Regions from separate parts of the Homo sapiens genome. Here all the other regions are linked to region 1. Evidence: promoter capture Hi-C in 16 types of primary human blood cells and fetal thymus (Javierre and others, 2016). All regions are on one chromosome and are shown on one strand. The core of a region is centred on a gene start or on the middle of the fragment in contact, and the rest is flanking DNA. Distances in the headings are between cores, read along the strand shown. Region 1 holds the start of RNF138 (ring finger protein 138). Region 2 overlaps KLHL14 (kelch like family member 14). Region 3 has its middle 6.6 kb from the start of DSG2. Region 4 has its middle 30 kb from the start of KLHL14. Region 5 overlaps KLHL14 (kelch like family member 14). Region 6 overlaps DSG2 (desmoglein 2).

What was found. Contacts are between HindIII fragments. The CHiCAGO score rates a contact against its expected background, and 5 or more counts as called.
Region 2: a fragment that was not itself captured here is called in contact with the fragment with the promoter of RNF138 in region 1 in 2 of 17 cell types (total B cells and naive B cells); the score reaches 6.8 in total B cells.
Region 3: a contact is called between a fragment that was not itself captured here and the fragment with the promoter of RNF138 in region 1, in 1 of 17 cell types (fetal thymus). The highest score is 5.3, in fetal thymus.
Region 4: a fragment that was not itself captured here is called in contact with the fragment with the promoter of RNF138 in region 1 in 1 of 17 cell types (total B cells); the score reaches 8.1 in total B cells.
Region 5: a contact is called between a fragment that was not itself captured here and the fragment with the promoter of RNF138 in region 1, in 1 of 17 cell types (naive B cells). The highest score is 5.1, in naive B cells.
Region 6: a contact is called between a fragment that was not itself captured here and the fragment with the promoter of RNF138 in region 1, in 1 of 17 cell types (fetal thymus). The highest score is 6.8, in fetal thymus.

What each region holds. Positions count from the first base shown.
Region 1 is chr18:32,090,605-32,093,908 of GRCh38, reverse strand. RNF138 (ring finger protein 138) reads right to left here and starts at 2,035. Exons shown (of 8, transcript NM_016271.5): 1 at 1,674-2,035; 2 at 1,023-1,209. The coding sequence starts at 1,132. LOC124904278 (a long non-coding RNA gene) reads left to right here and starts at 1,964. Exons shown (of 2, transcript XR_007066327.1): 1 at 1,964-2,054; 2 at 2,407-2,634. It also overlaps a transcript of RNF125 not described here. RefSeq lists a silencer at 1,197-1,616 and an enhancer at 2,287-2,336. The HindIII fragment of the contact is 10,157 bases long and covers 1-3,304 here.
Region 2 is chr18:32,760,472-32,763,683 of GRCh38, reverse strand. The region is part of intron 2 of KLHL14 (kelch like family member 14); the gene reads left to right. Among named protein-coding and RNA genes, the nearest start is that of KLHL14, 11 kb to the left of the region's middle. The HindIII fragment of the contact is 2,364 bases long and covers 586-2,949 here.
Region 3 is chr18:31,490,014-31,493,120 of GRCh38, reverse strand. No RefSeq gene overlaps it. Among named protein-coding and RNA genes, the nearest start is that of DSG2, 6.6 kb to the left of the region's middle. RefSeq lists an enhancer at 2,778-3,107. The HindIII fragment of the contact is 2,426 bases long and covers 169-2,594 here.
Region 4 is chr18:32,801,543-32,804,469 of GRCh38, reverse strand. No RefSeq gene overlaps it. Among named protein-coding and RNA genes, the nearest start is that of KLHL14, 30 kb to the right of the region's middle. The HindIII fragment of the contact is 876 bases long and covers 1,100-1,975 here.
Region 5 is chr18:32,735,255-32,738,570 of GRCh38, reverse strand. All of the region lies in intron 3 of KLHL14 (kelch like family member 14), which reads left to right. LOC112268208 (a long non-coding RNA gene) reads right to left here. Exons shown (of 3, transcript XR_002958196.2): 3 at 120-1,220. Among named protein-coding and RNA genes, the nearest start is that of KLHL14, 36 kb to the left of the region's middle. The HindIII fragment of the contact is 698 bases long and covers 1,033-1,730 here.
Region 6 is chr18:31,507,376-31,510,434 of GRCh38, reverse strand. All of the region lies in intron 1 of DSG2 (desmoglein 2), which reads right to left. Among named protein-coding and RNA genes, the nearest start is that of DSG2, 11 kb to the right of the region's middle. The HindIII fragment of the contact is 220 bases long and covers 1,215-1,434 here.

The DNA.
Region 1 (3,304 bases), core at 786-3,285:
GTTAAGTTTGAAATGGAGCCTGGGAATTGGTATGTTTACTTAAAAAGTTCCCCGGGGACTCTGATCATCAGTCAGGTCTGTCAGAAGGGCTATACACCTTCTCAACAAGGGCTCTTTCCAACCCTTACTCACACCCTAGCTGTCCATAAAATTTTATCAAAGTTCTTGTAAATATGCCTGCCAATCAAACGCATGCGTTATCTCACCCAACCCCTTTGTGTTCTCCCCCACCCTGGGTAGCATCTCAATTTCGGCTCATTCCTCATAACAGAAGTCTTCCTTTCTCCTCTCCACCCTTGTATTAATCAAGTAATAAGTAAGCAGAAAGGTAAAACAAAGGGGAACGCTCATTTCAATGCCCGAAAATCCTGTCAGTTTTAAGAGACCAGAGAAGAAAACTCATTCTAGATCCCTCTAACACATAGTGGACTGGAAACGAAACAAAACGCTCTCGAGGGTGTTCTGTGAAGCAGGGTTGAGGGGAAGTTACAGAAGAGCTCTTGGACCGAGGGGACGGACCAAGGTTCTGAAAGAGGAAACTTGAAAGCAGGGCAGGTCGCGGGGCGAGCGGGCCCGCGCGAGCACCGCCGGCCGCTTTTGACACTCGACACCCCAGCCTTCACCCGGGTTGCTAAGAAACAAAAAGGCTCCAAGATCCCTGCAATTCCTCCCGGGCCTGGCGGAGACGACAGGGGCCTCCGGGGCCTGAAGACGCCGCAGGGAACGGCCTGGCCACTGCCCCGGGGGCGCGAAAGCCAGGGAGAGCGGGAGAGCGGGAGAGCGGGAGAGCGGGAGAGCGGGAGCTTGGGCTGAGGGGGCTGGACGCGGGGAGCGGGCCCCGAGGCTGAGGAAAAGGCCGCCCCGGGACTCTGAGGGGCGGGGAACGGGACCTCGCGGGGCAGCGACGCTCGGGCAGGCCGCGGCGGGCTCGGTTCCCGCCAGGCGGCAGCCCGGGGTCCCGGGCCGGAGGCCGGGCCTAAGCGACAACCCGGCTCCGCGAGGGGGAGGGGGCGTCTACTCACACGTGCTGACAGGCCGTGGTCCGCACGGGCGTTTTGAGCACCTCCTGACAGACGGGGCAGTAGAAATCATCTTCGGTGTAGGACGTGGCCGCAGAGAGGTCCTCGGCCATGGCGGGGGATGGGGAAACAAGGCGATGGCGACAGCGGCAGCGGCCGAGGTGACGGTGGCGGCCCGGGGCCCGACTCCCTACATGAACCCGGAGGGGGGAGGGGGATCGCATCAGGATACAGCGCGCGCCAGGAAGGGGGCGGGGCCCTGGGTAGGGCGGGGCCGAACGCAGAGACGCTACTGCCGCACGCGCCGGGCAAGAGGCGACCCCTCCCACGGCTCCTCCCACAGGGGGCTGGATGGGGGACGGTGCTTGGCGGGAGGCTGGGCTCGCAGCATGCCGTGGGCCCGCCCCGCTCGCCCCTCACCCCGCCCCAGGACGCGGCCTCACGCTCTAGGCCACGCCCTCACCGGGCTCCAGGCGCGGGCTCGCGCCCCGCCCTCAGCCCCCGTCTTCGCCCAAGGCCTCCCTTTTCACTGCTTTTCCGCCTCTACTCACCCCGACCCCGAGCCCCGAGTGCCCAGCCCGTGTCCGCGGCTTCCTCCCCGCCCCGCTTCCCGGCACCCCGGCCCCTCCACGCTTCCGCCGGGGAGACTCTCACCTAGGAGCCCCGAAGCGGCGTTGTGGACGGAGCTGCTTTTCCTTCACGTGTTCGTAGAGACCCGGCCCAGCGCTTTCCTCGAGCTTCCTGTCCGGCCGCCGCTATCTTCGCAGCCGAGGCCCCGGGGCAAATGGAGGGCGGCGTGCGCTGTGCTTATCGGCCCCTAACGGGGCCGGAGCCGAGGCTCATGGTGCAGGGAGATTCGCCCGCCGCCGCCAGCAGCTCTGTCTTGGCATTGCGCTGCCTACAGCCTACCCGGCCGTCACCGAACGCGGGAGCGCCGGGGATCTGGGCGGAGGAGCCAGGAGAGGCGGGGAGGCACGGGGTGTGAAGTGCGGCCTGTATAGCAACCGGCGCACGGCGCCTTCCGCGGGTTGTGACGTAAGCAGCTGGGCGCCCGCGGTGACACCTGCGCCTCCCCGCCCCGCCTCGCTAGGCCCGGGACCCCAGTTACCTCTCCTGTCAAATACATTGGGCCTTTCAGGAAGTTTTCGTCAATGTTCAAGATTTAGTCTTTACTATTTGCCCTACCAGAATGTTTTGATCTTGTCAAGATGTGTTATAAACAAATATTTGTTACGGGATTTTAATCCTTTGGGGGCAGGATTAAAGTTTCCTTGAGAGGATGTCCACTTTCTCCTTTAACAGCATGACCGATGCTTAAATACGGTCGCAGATGCAGTCTTCTACTACACCTTTGGGTTGATTTTTGATTTTTTCTTTTTTTTTTTAGCTTTGAAGAGAAATGCCGTAGAAGCATGGACGTGGCTTTTCACCAAGGTTATTCACTAATTTAAGTGTTTTTTTTAATTTTATTTTATTTTATTTTATTTTTTGAGACAGGTACTCACTCTGTCTCCCAGGCCGGAGTGCAATTATCTGTACAATTGATAATCTATAAGATGGTCCAACCTGCGTAACAGAGTGAGATTCCGTCTCAAAAAAAAAAAAAAAAAAGAAAGAAAAAAGGCCGGGCGCGGTGGCTCACACCTGTAATCCCAGCCCTTTGGTAAGCGAAGGCGGTTGGATCACTTGAGGTCAGGAGTTCAAGACCAGCCTGGCCAACGTGATGAAATCCCATCTCTACTAAAAATACAAAAATTAACCGGACATGGTGGTGGGAGCCTGTAATCCCAGGTACTCGGGAGGCTGAGGCACGAGAATCGCTTGTACCCGGGAGGCAGAGGTTGCAGTGAGCCGCGATCGCGCCGCTGCACTCCAGCCCTGGCGACAGAGTGAGACTCTCAAAAAAAAAGAAGAACAAAAAAAGGATAAATCGATAAGATGGGATCCACAATGACGTGAAAGAAGCTAAGGAAAATCTGGAACATTATACAGCATCTACAATTAGCTTCAGAGAAAAGAAAGGTTTTATTACCATCCTTTGTTAAAACCCTCCCCCATGGTCTAAATGAATAAACAGAAGCCATTTAAGGGACTATTTAAATCAATTCTGCCATTTATTGTCTATGTTGACATTGGCATTGTTAGGTGTTATGCAGATGTCATGAACTTTGCTCTCAACCTGTTTACATTATTACATATCTATCAGAATGAGAGAGAAAAAATGGTATTTGCCAAAGTATTAAATTTTGCATTAAACGATGGCTATAATGAGGATAGGAAATGGA
Region 2 (3,212 bases), core at 518-3,017, 670 kb before region 1:
AAACATACACACAACCTGTTGTTGGCCAATAATAATAGTAGCTATCACTGTCTGAGCAACTACCACAAGCTTGACTTATCACTTACAGTGTTTCTAATCTTTACAGCACCCTTTAAGCCTTTTTAAAGATGAGAAAACTGGGACTCAGAGAAGATAAGTAATTTACCCAATTATCTGAATAGTGTTGAGTCAGAGGTCCTTATCACCAGGGAAATAACCCTGCCATTATGAGTATATATTGGAGATGTGGCATTTACAAAAGACAAACTCTTATCTACACCTTCCACTTCTGTTTTATCACACCACAAAAGTCATTAAAAGTTCCTGCCATCTAACTCTTCTTCAGGCCACTCAACCAATGAAGAACGAGGGGAAGACATTAGAAAGCCAGAATTCTATCCTTCTGGTCTACAGCACTTAATTATTAGTTCTGAATTAAGGGGCTAAATAATAAGTTGCTGAGATTTGGCACTATAATATTGACTTACTAAAAATAGAATGAGCCAATGCACTTTAAATAAAGAAAAGAAAGAAAAATAAGAAATTTCTGTTTAACTATGAAAAAAAAAAAAAAACCTTGAAGCTTGAATTTGAACCAAAAGTTGGTTTCCCTGGATTTCTGTGCACTGAAGTACTAAAGGGGTGTCAGATTTGTTTTTGTGACAGTAAAACACTATTCATGTTGGGGATACTTTCAGGTGATTAAATAACCAGGTAGAAGTTGGAATTATAAAAATACCTGTATATTTTAATAACAAAATAAGACCTCTCTAACTGAAAATTTATTCTGTTTATATTTTGTTTCAAGAAAATCAATTTAACAATTGTTAGATCATAAATGTTTGTCTTCTCTCATTCACTTAGAATTCAGAAAACATGTTCATTTTCCATGTCCTTTCCATTGATTTCCAAGATAATTCACAATACAGGCATTACTAATGATGATTTCTTTAAATTAAAACAAAAAAACACTATTTTGATATGGGTAGGAGGATCACTTAACCAGAGAAAGGCTATCTGTTGTAGTACAGATGATACAATGAGTGTGTTCATTTTACTGTAAATAGCAGAGAGGTTTATCTCTTCACAAATAATATTAATGCAAATAGGATTAGAACTATTTGCAACACTAGAAGTAAAGCAGAAAGGTATTATGGAATGCCTACCGTAAAAAGAGAAAATAAATTATAGGGTAATGAGAAAAAGAAGAAAAAACAAGAAGTAAGAAAAATGCAAGGAAATAAGGGGTATCAAACAAGTTATTAAGAATGTGAACTATCTGAAAAAGGAAGAAAAAGAAGATGGGCAAGAAATTTCTAAAGACTGGAAATTAGGTGTTCAACATTTACAAATCAAGATAAGAACAAATCAAGAAACACTTAAATCATGGCATACCCAACCTTATATAATTTAGAGTTATAGACAGAATTTCATTAAAAAGAAAAAAAAAGTCAGTCCTCAAAAGAAAGAAAATATTTTCACAAGAAAAAAATGTCAATCATGGTACCTTACCGCCTATAATACCATTCGGTTCAATAACTATGTATATGTAATCTGAGTTAATAAGATTTTTTGTTGTTTTTTTTTTAAATCCATTGTTGTGCTAGGTAATGCAGTAGTTTCAGAAGTCTCGGAGTTCAAAGGGGACAACCCATTCTGTGAATATAAGGAGATAAACATATAACTGCATTCATTGCAAAATCATCTTAATTCCCATGTAATTTGACCTGGCAAAAGACCTGAGAAGCAAGGAGAACTTCAGGACCTCTGACAGCTTTCTAAATGCAGGCCCATGACTGTGTCACACTGATAGTGGAAACTTGGAGTGATGCATTGCAATTTACTACTAATCAGAAGTTGTGCTATGGAATAACCCCCACATTTGTATTGAACGTATATGGTACATCAAGCTCTGAGCTAAGTTCTGAGATACAGAGTTGAACAAGACAGCCACATTTCTGACTGCATGCAATTTACAGTAAAAAGAGAAAGAGTAAATAGTAACACAAAATAATCACACTGGCAATACATAACCTACAAGAGAAAAGTGGCATGGGCTGGGACACCCTATAACAGACAGCTGTAACCTTATCCGAGTGACTGGAGAAGACTTTCTCTGCAACAAAGGTATAAGATGAGCCTTGAAAGATGAGCCATTCTAAGTAATAGGCCTGGGGAGAAGGCAAAATATGCAATTGGAGAGGCAAAGCTGAGAGAAGACCACCTGCAAAACTCCTGGGCAGAAAAGAGCTTGGCACCTTCCAGGAACTTAAAAAAAAAAAAAAAAAAAGGATGTGTGGCTACATTTGTGGCAAGAGGGGTTGTCCAAATCATACAGGAAGTTGTAGGCCCTGCTAAGGATTATTTACTGCATAGATACATTTTAAAATGGAAAAATCAGCATGTTTTTCAGTTGAACTGAAAAAAGAAGTAATACTATTGTGGAAACACTGCTGCCTTTGAAATCATAAACCTAAATGAGTGGCCTGGCTCCACGTTAGCCGAGTCCTGCAGCAGTAAAATGGGTTAATAATTATAGTTCTAAATACTTAGCAGCATTTGTAGAAAGATCAGCTGAGATTGTAGAAAAACTAAACATAAAATGCTGTTTTAAGTTTGTATATTATTAATTTTAAAAGACATATTTAGCAAAATTTACCTGAATGCACTTTTGCCTATCAAAAAATCACTAGGACATATTCATGATATCACTGATAGCACAGAAATAGTCAGAGACTGTTAACACCAGAGGAATGAAGTTGGAGGGAACCAAAGGTGAAACCAAGGGCATCAGAAGGAAGTGGGAACATTAGAATTTTCGACAGCTCTCAGCAATTTATATTTCATTCTTCAAAAGGAAAATGATGGCCGGTTGAGTTATAAATGTCTTTCATTTTTTCCTTTCATAGAAGAGAGTTCCTCTTCTTTTTAATCTCATAAACTTAAGCTTAGAGGCTTTCTTTTCTGCTGCTCCCAAAGCCTTTCACATGCATATGTCTGGCTTCTTTGCTCCCAGAGCGCCTGTGAGGGGTTGGTAAATTGCACCTGCGCGGGGACTCTGAACTTCCTCAGAGCTCAGCTGGGCCACCGTATGGAGACTGGCTCACTGGAGGCTGCAGAGAAGTGAACTGAAGAATTACAGTCGGTTTCACTTCCCTGCCTTATGTGCCTTCAGGTGCCTCTGAAGACAGGCGAGGCCAGTGAAATGGAGA
Region 3 (3,107 bases), core at 132-2,631, 600 kb after region 1:
TGTGTATATATATATATATATACACACACACACACACACACACACACACACACACATATACACACTCCTCAGACTATGGAGGATTCATCACCAGGCTGAGAAGCAACAGCCTGGGCTCCAGAGTCGGCCACTCATCTGTACACAGACAAGAAGATGTCTCTTGAAGCTTCGTTGCAGTCTGGGACCCTAGCTCTTTTTGTAACCAGTTGTTCGGCATGAGGCCCAGTCACGAGGGCCCTTCGAGACTGGGCTCAGATAACACAAAAGGTCAACTTGTTTTTGCGACTGTCTGTTGTTTTTCAATAACTAACGTATAGGTGTAGATTGAAATAGAGATTTCTTCGAAACAGTGCTGGATGAATTCCTCAAGGGGCTCACATGACCTGTTCTGGGACTTGGTGACCGTTGTTTGTGTCCATGTTCAATTGAGTTCAAATGTAATATCTAACTTTTTTTCCACACCTATATAAGCATAAAGGGTTATTTGGAGACTAGAAAGAGAGGTTTGGTATTAAATTTGGCTCAAATAGTAGAGTTCCTTCTGTGGTCCAAAATGCCCCCTCTCCCTCTGGTAGCATCTCTCACCCTTCTCTCCCAAGTGCCAATCTTCAAGATCCAGTACAGTCACCACCTCCTCATTACACTCTTTCTTCTCAGTTCCCCAAGGACCACTGCCTATTTGAGCTGAGAGAAGCACATTCTCCATATGTTTGGGGCTTAGCTGCTGAGTGGATTTTCTCATGCAGTTACTTAAGTGACGGTGGCTGAATTAGTTGAGGACTTAGCTCATTAATGTGCTCAGAAGTGCCCCAAACTGTGCTCTGTACTATGGGATACTCTCAGTAAACTTTTTTACATCATTGAATCTGGAGGAAATATGTCTTAATTTCCACTCCTTTCTCTTGAGCTAGATGTGGGTATTAGCACACCTTGGGGATACTTCTCGTTTGCCATCATGCTGGGAGCACTCCTGATTTAAGAAGTGAGGCTTTACCAAATCACTTGCAGAAATCATTGTAGGAAACTATGTGTCAGTCCTGCCTTAAATTTGTGCCCTTGCAATTGAGTCCTATAGAGAAGTATTTATGCCTCATTATTAAGTCTTTGGTTTCTATTCAGCAATGAAGATAATCATAGCTTCCAGAATGAGAAATAGCCAATGCAAACTTTATTTCTGTTGTATTATTCAACCTCCCCTGAAGGCTATCAAAGTTAGTTTCAAGGTAGTATTCCTTCTATAAGACATTTTCCCCAGGACTTTGAGAGAAGGTGCCAATATGTCATCCAGTGCCATAGCATGTCACTCCTGAATTAGTTCTACTTTAAAAATTCTAAAACTTATGACTCAGAGAGGTGAAGGAACTTCTTGAGAATCAGATGTTTCACAGCTAACTCTCTGGCTCCTAACTTCTTTATGCTGGGGTTAGAGTAAATCTGTTTCATACATCTCTGTGCACAAAAATAAATGTAGCCATTACCAACAAAGGACTAAGGATTTGTTTAAAATAAATTGAAGTCTTAACAGGATGTGAAAATTTTAACTTTCATGTTTTCCTCCCCCAAGTTAGTTGAACATTACGGTAAATGTACTTTTCTTAAGACATTTAGAATGGATTAGTTCAAAACATATTTTGTGTGGATAATAATTACCTTTAACATCTAGATATATTCAAAATATCTACCTGAATTTATGTTTTCCAGAATACTTTGCTTCACACACATACACAGATAAGAATAATCTTCAAGTGATTAGCTCATTAAAATCACCCCTTTAATATGATCTAAAACCAAAAATACTTTAAAGGGTTTCAGAAAGATCAATGAAAATTAATATATCTCTTTTCTACTAACACTGCTCCTTACTGCCAACACATCCTAGCATTAAATATTATTTTAAAAATGGACAGTTCTTTGCTAAAGGTCTGATAAGTGGCTGACCACTTAATTCCAGTGAAAATCTCATGAGTATATGTATTAGAATTAATGTTTCACAGGTGAGAGCTAAATCTGGTTGCTATCCTTTTAAAATGCTTTATAAACAAATCATAGAGTTGTGTAGCTGTTATAAAAAAAGGTTATCATGGTCAGGAGGATTACTCATAGAATGTTGATTAGCAAAGGGCATATGGACACAGGACAAAATGTGAAATACTCCCAGGTAATCTGAGAAGGGAAATATGAGGAGGAATCTGTTTTTTGGTTTAGTTCTACTAGTTTATTCAATATTTACCTTGTCCCTGTTCAACAAACATTTAATTTTCATTTTACTAGAAATGCAAAATTAAATGTTTTCCTGTATCGAAAGAAACAAGAATAGGTGCTTATAAAATAATATAACTATAATTACTTATAAAATAAAATAATATAACCACTGTGGTAGAACTACACATGCAGTATATGAACAATGAAGGTTTCCCACCTCACACTTTGGACTATGGGGTTAGAAAAGGCTTCTTGGAGGAAGTTTGCTGAAGTGATTCTTAAAGGATGAGTAATTGTGAACCAGGTGTTGAACCTGCCAGGGCAGAGTGACTCAAAGCATAGACACTGTTGATGAAGAGTCAGGGGCTTTCGCTTTAGCTGTGAAAAAAGCTTTCTTTTCATCATGTTGACACAAACAGGGAATCAGAAGTAAAAACTTTCCTTTTGGTAAAAACATGTTGAATTTGAGACATTAGAACAAAATCCAATTAGAAAAGCCTAGCAAGTCATTTGAAATGAGAAAGGACAACTGCATTGCAAATAGATTTGGGCAGCAGAAATAGTCACCTTATTTTGTTCCCATCTCACTGGCTGTTCTTTCTCAATCCCTTTCTTGCCCTCTGCTACTTGTAAAATGTGTGTGTCTTCTGAGTTCCAAACTTTGCTTCTTTTCTTCTTACTTAGTAGCAGGTATGATTCTGTGGTCACTTTCATTGTGTAAACTTAGCTTTCTTTCTCAAGCTCAAATCATGGGACCTCACTATTTGGATATTTCATGGGAACCTCACACTTCCATAATAATTTTGTAGGGATATCAAACTCAGCATATTGACAAAAAAGCTTTCCCTCTGATATGGTTTCGCTGTGTCCCCCACCTAAATCTCATCTTGAATTTTAGCTCCCAT
Region 4 (2,927 bases), core at 288-2,787, 710 kb before region 1:
AGAAATGGTCTGATTTTCAAAGATACAAAATCAGTTTGAAACTTTGTAATACATGACCCTCGAAAATAAGCCTAGATACAAACTCCCAAACTGAAGACATTTAGTATGCTGACTACTTGTCAACAGACCATAACATCAGTCATGAGTCAAAAGAGGAAGGTGAGCAGGAAGGGGGACAGATATCAAGGAGCCACTTGAATGATAAAGTATTTTCAAAAACACAATTATCTATGTCTGGCTTATCTATTCTACTAAATTATAATTCCTTAAAAGCAAAGACTTGAATTTTTTCCATTTTAGATTCCACGCAATGTCCGTATGGTGCCTGGTACTAGCTAGGCACCATATTATTGAATTAATGAATATAGCAATTGATTAGTGTTTAATGAATTGGCTACAGCCAATTGTTGTTCAGGCATATTTACAAAAAAAAATCTTTCAAGGTTTTTCTGGACAGATTAAAGTGAATTACAACTCAAGGGAAAAGTAAAAGAAAACAAAACACTCCACTCTCTAACATATATTTGAGAACAAATGGAAAATAACACTGGGACTTTGAAAATGAGGAGCATGGCCCTGAGGATTTCAAAATGGACTGCCTTCCTTCTGCTGGAACAACGGCACCACACAACTGAACAAACAGCCAAGGGGCCATGTTCTATCCTGCAGCCCCCACATGTTTGCATTAGTGAGGTAAGCAGCTCAAAGGGGAACTTAAAAGAAGACTTGTATTGTTCATGGAGCCTTTCAAGCGTAGTAAGGGTGGAATTCCATCTGTTCAGTTCAGTTTGGTTCACTGAGCTGGTTCACTCGTAATGGTTCACTGAGTTGTGACACCTAGTAGAAATTACAACCAATGTTTTTAAAAACCTTTATGTTATCATTTGTGAAACTGTGTGGCTTGATCACTTTAAAGTTTTCATCTCCTTGTGTTTTTGATCTGTTTCCAGGATACCTCTTTCCTGGTCTTTAAAAAAAAAAAAAGTGAAAAACTAGCACTGAAAATACCACTAAAAAGAGGAATATATTTGTTGAGCTCTGTTTTGCATACTGGCTTAATTTGTGCACGATTTCAGACAAACACAGAAGTTACAAAGCTTTCACTCCGGGTTTGCATTCACCTTGTCTCCCAACCATGAGCTCTTTATGCACAGAAAGAGCCATGAATGGCTAACACTCTTTGCAGCAGCTTAGCAGATACTCTGCCTTGAGGAACAGGTAGAATTCCACACTACTCGCTTGAATGACTCACTGAACAATACCAAGTTATTAAGTTTTTCAGGACCAAGATGGTGATGGGGGAGGGCACTCCATTTGACATCTGCCCAGTGGCATCTTACAAAAAGTCTCTGTGCTTGCACGGAACTTTGCAGGAGGCCAAGTACCGATCAGCAATGATTATGATCTCAGCCAGATAATCATTTTCACTTACCTGGAGGAGAAGAAACAAAGTGGTAAAATGTGACAATGATGTAAAGTGATGGATGGTTATTTGCAGTGCATTTTGCAAACAGCACATTGGGTATGATGAAGGAGGACCTTTGTATGAAGTTCAACAAATAACAAAAGACATTCCCACTATACTTTGAGTAACCTGCCTCAAAGGTGCCAGATCTATTTCTCACAGGGTGAAGGAAGCGTGCAACCTATTCAGAGAAAAAAAAAAAACAGAGAGAGGAATGCTTAAGAAGGTTTTCCACTGCATGCACTGGAGATCTGAAAAGAATGAAAGTAAATCTGTAAAGCAGAAATCTAAGGAAGAAGGAAATGCAGAAAGGCCGACCACATCAGGCACCTAGTCCAGTTGGTTATGCCATAATCATTGATACCATGGTATTTTTGTCTCATCTCGTATCATGTGCTTCAATTCACTCCAAAAAGTAGCTCCAGCATTTTCCTCTGACCATTGCTCAGTAATGAAGGAGTATGTAATGCAAACGCACGGACAATCTCTGGGTCTTAACAGTAAGAAGCTTCCTGTTGGAAATCTCATTGGGTTAGGTAAAAGGATCTTGATTTATTTGCCAATGAAGGATAGAAAACAATTCAAAATTATTTAAGTGATACTTTTGCCACTGCTTACTTCCTGTACATCTCTGGAATTATGATATTTATTCATCAGCTCAATTTACCATACTATCATCCTGAGACCGTTCCTTTGAACTGTGTCCTTGCCTTTCTTCAACATCCCTCCAGGTATCGTATCATCACGGCCACATCAAAGCAGGTAGGGTAACAAATGTTCACTGAATTAAAAAAAAAATCTGATGTGTGCTTTACTTTTCTAAGTTCTACTTGTATTGCAGGTGAAATTCCTTCCTCTGGATTTTTTGGCTGTTGCTTGTCGAATGTTTTCGTCCTGGCTGTGTCCATTTGCATTTGTCTCAGACTCTAACTCTCTTAACTATCCTCATCTTCCATCACAGTGACTGCATAGCTCATCTTCAACATTTAGTAAGATAGGTGAACAGTGTCATCACTATTAATATTGAGAGCATTTGATAGTCTTGGTCTTAATCCCTTTTAGCATATTTTCTCCTTTACTAATCTTTCTTTCTAAAGCTTCTCATTTTCAAGAGGTAAACTCTATTGATCAAATTAGTTCTTATCAGCTGAAAACTAGGTGACCTGTGAAGCAACTAGTAGATTAACTCTATCCTTTTTACTTTTCTTCTTTTAAAAGAAAAAAAAGTTATGAAATGCTTTGCATGTGAATTACACCAAGAAAGAGTAAGCACCAGAAAAAAATACTGTAATAACACCTGAATTTTTATTAAAATCTATAATAGGAGGAAATGTTTCTTTCCAGTAATGAATATAAAAATAAAAAAATAAAAACAACCTATATACTAAGAATAATAATAGTTACATGCTTCTGAGGACTCTCTGGAAAGTGTAGATTAGATATTTATGTGTCTGTGGGTTAA
Region 5 (3,316 bases), core at 132-2,631, 650 kb before region 1:
AGAAATAACATGTAAAAATGACTGCAACGTCTTTTTGTAAATGTGAAGTGTTAAGTAATAACATTATAAGTTTGGCATTGTTGTTCTCTCGCCTGTTAATAATAAAAGGGAAGTCAAGATGCACTTTTGTTCATCTTTATTTCTCAGTACTGCTTTTCTTGCATCTCTCACTCCTGCACGCAGTCTCCCGTTTCATCTTAACTTATTAGAAAGCAGTACAGGAGACATGAATACTAAAATGGCCAATGCATCATGCCTCTTGCACTTTGCAGGCCCTAAATCCTCTGTGCAAAGATTAAACAGAACACTTGCTGGGGTTACCGTGTACTTTTGATAATAGATTTCTTTTATATCAAAGTTTTTATGAAGTCCACATGTGGAGACCCCTTTTATTTCTCCCCATAGGGCAGCATTGGAGAGCTCTCCATTCCATTTTTATTCCCTGTGGACCGATTTCTTTACTGATGGGCAAGGTATTTTCCAGGAGCTGGCATCCTTTTTCCAATGTTTCAAATAAGAGATTCTATTTATTAGATGCTTCTTTGTTGCCTTTTGTGACCAACAACAGAAAAGAGGGACTTTAAAATATAGATTTATCCTTCCATGTACCAATGATGACTTCTTTTTAATAACATTAGAATGAAAATTATGGAGCTAAGTAGAAAGTCGTGTTCCTTCTCTTGATAACTCTAAGTTCCCTTTGTTAAAGATAGAGGAAATGCCTTTTTGTTTCTCTTCCGTTCTGTTGATTTACAACTCTTTTCTCTTTGTAGTGGAAGGATTTGGGAATTTTCTAGTGTTCAGTCATGGAAAATAAAGGAAACTGTTGGGTGGTGGTTTCCTAGGTTGTCTCCTCTGACCCACGGATGACATTTAACTTGATCCCATCCAGATAGGAGGGGTCCTGTGTCTGGTTGTTATTTATTTCTTTAAGAGGAGTCACAAAGATCAGAAAGCTGGTGGATTCTTCACACTTTTGAAAAACTATACTTTCTATAAATGGTGACGGAATAGTCATGAGCAAACAAAGCTTGTATAAGACATTGAACTTCAGTTCCAAATGATAAATATAGGTTTGATCATATTCAATAGCCAAGCAATGCAGAATGGTTTAGTTGTTGATTATTCAGGGAATAATTAATAAACCTGCATGTTGATACATTCAAATGGACTTCTTTCCTTGGCCCTTCTGTTTCTTGATTTCAGTTCATTTCTGTTCCCTAAGGATATAAAGGGAGGAAAGTAAAATTAGTCAAAACCTAATAATCATTTATCATTATTTGTTTTGAAGAAAATAAAATGTAAGTTAAATTAAGGGCTTTGTACCTGTGGGTTTCCTTTATTCATATTACCTTTATTACCAAGAACTAAAACCCACAAACCATTTAATTTAATGTTATTTCTAGACAGGTAGGTAGGGTTCATAGATAGTGTGTTTCTCATTGCAGGAGAACTTCAGAAAACAATGAGGTACTTTTGAACGACTCTGAAAATGCCTAGGAAGAATTTAGACTTATTTATAGACCTCATTCCTTTATGTAATAAGCAATTATTGAATACCCACTCTGTGTTGGATGGTAGGATAGAACATGCATAAGATAATCTCTCCTCTCAATAACCTAAGGAAGTAATTATAATACAGGGTGCTAAGAGATACATACAGAAATTCTAGGGTGCTATGGGAACACAAAAATGAGCCCCTAAAGTTAACATGAGAGGTTAGGAAAGCTTTCCTAGAAGTGACCATCTGTAACTCTGAAAAAATGGGTAGGAATTACCTAGGCAAAAGGTAGATGGAAAAGTATTTTAGTAAGACCACCCAGTATTGAGAATGCCAAAAGACAAGAGGGAGTATAGTGTCTTTTGGCAACTGAAATAAATTTGTGTATCTATAGGAAAATCTGAAGTTGGACTAGTAAGCAATGGGGCTGCAGAATTAACCAAGAACCATATCACATGGAGACTATTTCAAGGAATTATCAAGACAGGTTCAAGAATTAAGAATTGCAAGTAGGGATACCCCTCTATTTTTTGTTTTCAGGGTTACTGAAAAAAACAGGGATCTAAATATTATATACAATATCATAGCAGTTGATCTCTCTTAGCTTGGAATTTTTTGTTTCAGAGCATGGAGCAATCGTTTCCATGGCTTTGGACAAAGAAGGAGAGACAATTGTGTTTGGACTTTTTAAATATGTTAGCATCTAATTTTACCTTCAATGAGCTCAATTCTAATTTGAGATACATGGCTGCACATTGCTATATATCTTGAATTATTTGCTACTGTGTATTCATGCACCAGTGCATTAGTGGATTTTTCATAGATTTTTAAGAAAATATGTGTGGTGGTCACTCCAAATACTGTATTTCAAGGAAGCTGGGTACCTAGAAAAACTGGTTGACCTTCTTTGGCCATCTCTCATTTATTTCTGGCTTATACCTCTCTTGAATATAGCAATTGTTTTTTCTCCAGAGAACAGCATGTGTACAAATAATTCTGATACCTTCTTTAGACATAAGCTGTGGTATGTGCTACTGAATCTGAAATGAAGGAGGTATGAGTCATGCGGGCTGTTTAAATTTGCTGTGTGTCATTCCTGGGCAAATTACAGACTAAGTCTGGCAAATCATTGAATGTAAGTACTGAAAGAATAAATGATCTCAATGCCCAACCCTCTCATTTTACACACTCATTTCATTCATTTAACAAATATAATTGGTATCTTCTATGTAACAGAGATTGTGCTAAGCACAGAGGATACCACGCTGAGCCAAAACAAATATCACCATGTTAATAGTTTAGAGAGGGAAACCAGCATTAATAAATAATCCCAGGTAGCAATATATAATAAGAAAATGTGATAGTGCTCTGAGAGAAGGGTATAAAATATATAAGATCTGGCAGTGGAGAGTCCTGATCTAATCAAGGAGTCATGGGGAATATTACTAAAGAAATGGCATTTGCACTGACAACTGAAGGATAAGAAGGAGTTAGGCAGTGCCCAGGTGAAGATGTGAGATAAGATTGCTCCAGGTTAGTTAACAGTAAAGGCAAAGATGCTGCAAAAAGAAGGTGCGTGGCTGAACTCAAAGAGTGAGGGGGAAACAGATAGGAGATGTGGCTAAAGACACTGGCAGAGACCAGGCCATACAGGAACTTCAATGGCAGGCTCACAATTTTTTCATTTTGGCTTTTACTTTAAGTTATGCAAAGAGAGGAGGTGCTATATACCTAGGGTCACACAGTGATTTAATGGCAGGGTAAGGAATAGAACACTGGTATCTGTAGTTCCATCTAACTGTGCTGCTCCAGATC
Region 6 (3,059 bases), core at 75-2,574, 580 kb after region 1:
CCTGGCTGACAGGTTCTCTGTCAGAAGTCTTTCCTTTAAAGTAGAGAATCTTGAAGTGTTCAGTGGTTTTATGGTGAGGTGATCCCTTAAACTTTAATAGATCAGACTAAGAGATACCTTATTAAAAATGGATGTAGAGAAATACAAATTAGTTTAAAACATTATTTCAACTTTCAGTCACTATAATGGCTTCTAATGTCCATTCAGCGAGAAATTACTAGAAGGTAAGCAGTGTGCTCAACGGACTATCTTTAGAACTCAAACACAGAGGACGTGGCACTTGCCAGTGGTTCTTTAAATTCATGCCCACCTCAGGCCCATCATCTAACATCTGTGTTATTTTCTTTCCTTGGTTACTCAACCTTCCAACCAGCAGAATGTTTTATAATTCTTTTGTTTCTCCCTTTTATTGTATAGAAGGTCAAATCAAAAACTGCCCAGAGGATCCCTGGTTTATCCCCAATCCATTCTTAAAGAGCTTTCAACTTTGGCTGAAATAATCTGAAAGAAATAAAATGAGATAAAATAAAGGGAGTGGATGCCACTTGTTTATTTCCTCTGGTCACACATCCTGACTTTTCTATTTGTATTGGCAGAGCTGGTGGTCTGGTCTGTAGTAGCGTCCATAGCCACAAAGAAGGCTCTGTAGTCTACAGTCATAGAAATGTACATGTTCAGAAGAGTTCAAGTGACCCAGTGCAGTCAGGGTGGACCAGTGAGTTTGGTGATCTGCTCTGATAAATCTGACGTGGGTCAGATTTATGTTGGAATTCACCTACTGCACTTTTCTCTTCTTAATCTTATTTTGGGGACAGGAGGAAGAAAAGACAGTTTTTATAACATTTATTTTACGGCTAACCAGCATAACTTATTTAGAAAATTCCAACTTAAAAGTCCAACTTACAGATGATCTAGACATTTATATACTCCTATAGCAGTCTCACTCAACAGCTGATTTAAATATGTAATTATATTTTTCACAATTGCTAATTTAAAAAAAAAGAGCAATATTTTGAACTTTTAATTTTTGAACTCTGAATTTGAACTTTAGATAATAATAAATATTTTAAGTCTGACAGTAATAAAGTACATGACTTACCAAAATCTTTCACCTGTTCTTCGGATGTTTGGGCTAATCTGAATGTAACAAATATGATTTTAGGTGAGTCATATTGAAGTTAGTTACAAAGAGGAAGACAGTTTCTTTGAAAGCTTTTTATTAACTCATAGAATTTTAAAATATGCATTTAGCAATGCTTTGCTACACTTGACTTGTTCATTCATGCTGTGAATTCTTATTTCAAGTAAAGTTTTGTATATTCATGGACAGTTCCTATTTTTTCCCTTGACATAGGGCTTTTTAATATTTAATCTTCTTTTCTACTCCAGTTATTTTTATTTTCTAATTGGGATGTTAACAGTGGTTTTCAAGCTTGAGTGGCATTAGAATCACCTTGATAAAACACAGATTACTGAGTCCCGCCTTAGAGTGTCTGACTCAGTAGGTCTGGATGGGGTCCAAGAATTTGTATCTAACAAGTTTCCTGGGGATGCTGATGCTGCTTGGCCCCAAAAGTGGGACCACACTTTTGGAAACCACTGTGTAAAATCACATGGTAGCATAGGAAAGGGAAGAAGAGGAGAGCCTGGATAATTCATAAACTGGATAATGAGCCCCTAGTTACAGACAGATGTGTGAAAAGATGTGTTCTAAATCAGGCAATTCAGGCCGGGCTCAGTGGCTCACGCCTGTAAGCTCACACCTGTAATCCCAGCACTTTGGGAGGCAGAGGTAGGCAGATCACCTGTGGTCAGGAGTTCAAGACTAACCTGGCCAACATGGTGAAACTCCATCTCTACTAAAAATACAAAAATTAGCCAGGTGTGGTGGTGCATGCCTGTAATCCCAGCTACTAGGGAGGCTGAGGCACAAGAATCACTTGAACCCAGGAGGCGGAGGTTGCAGTGAGCCGAGATGGCGCCACTGCACTCCAGCCTGGGTGACGGAATGAGACTCTATCTCAAGAATAAATAAAATAAAATAAAATAAAATAAAATAAAATAAAATAAAATAAAATAAATCAGGCAGTTCAGTAACTGTGAATTCTCCCCATCACAAAAAGATTTTTCATTTTACAAGTATTCATCAACTACAATTGAACTGTAGGAAAACACTTTAGGTAGTGTTTTCCCCTGGTTTATACCTCTTCTTCTAGTTTAACTTTTACTGGTCCTAAGCATTTGTCACTCAAAAAATACCATTTTATGGTGTTGGGAAAACTGGCTAGCCACATGCAGAAAACTGAAACTGGACCCCTTCCTTACACTTTATACAAAAATTAACTCATGATGGATTAAAGACTTAAATGTAAGACCTAAAACCATAAAAATCCTAGAAGAAAACCTAGGCAATACCATTCAGGATATAGGCATTGGCAAAGACTTCATGACTAAAACACCTAAAGCAATGGCAACAAAAGCCAAAATTGACAAATGGGATCTAATTAAACTAAAGAGCTTCTGCACAGCAAAAGAAACCATCATCAGAGTGAACAGGCAACCTACAGAATGGGAGAAAATTTTTGCAATCTATCCATCTGACAAAGGGCTAATATCCAGAATCTACAAGGAACTTAAACAAATTTACAAGAAAAAAACACTCAGCCCTATCAAAAGGTGGGTGAAGGATATGAACAGACACTTCTCAAAAGAAGACATTTATGCAGCCAACAAACATGAAAAAAAGCTCATCATCACTGGTCATTAGGGGAATGCAAATCAAAACCACAATGAGATACCATCTCACACCAGTTAGAATGGCGATCATTAAAAAGCCAGGAAACAACAGATGCTGGAGAGGATATGGAGAAATAGGAATGCTTTTACACTGTTGGTGGGACTGTAAATTAGTTCAACCATTGTGGAAGACAGTGTGGCGATTCATCAAGGATCTAGAACCAGAAATACCATTTGACTCAGCAATCCCATTACTGGGTATATACCCATAAGATTATAAATCATTCTACTATAAAGACACATGCACACATATGTTTATTGAG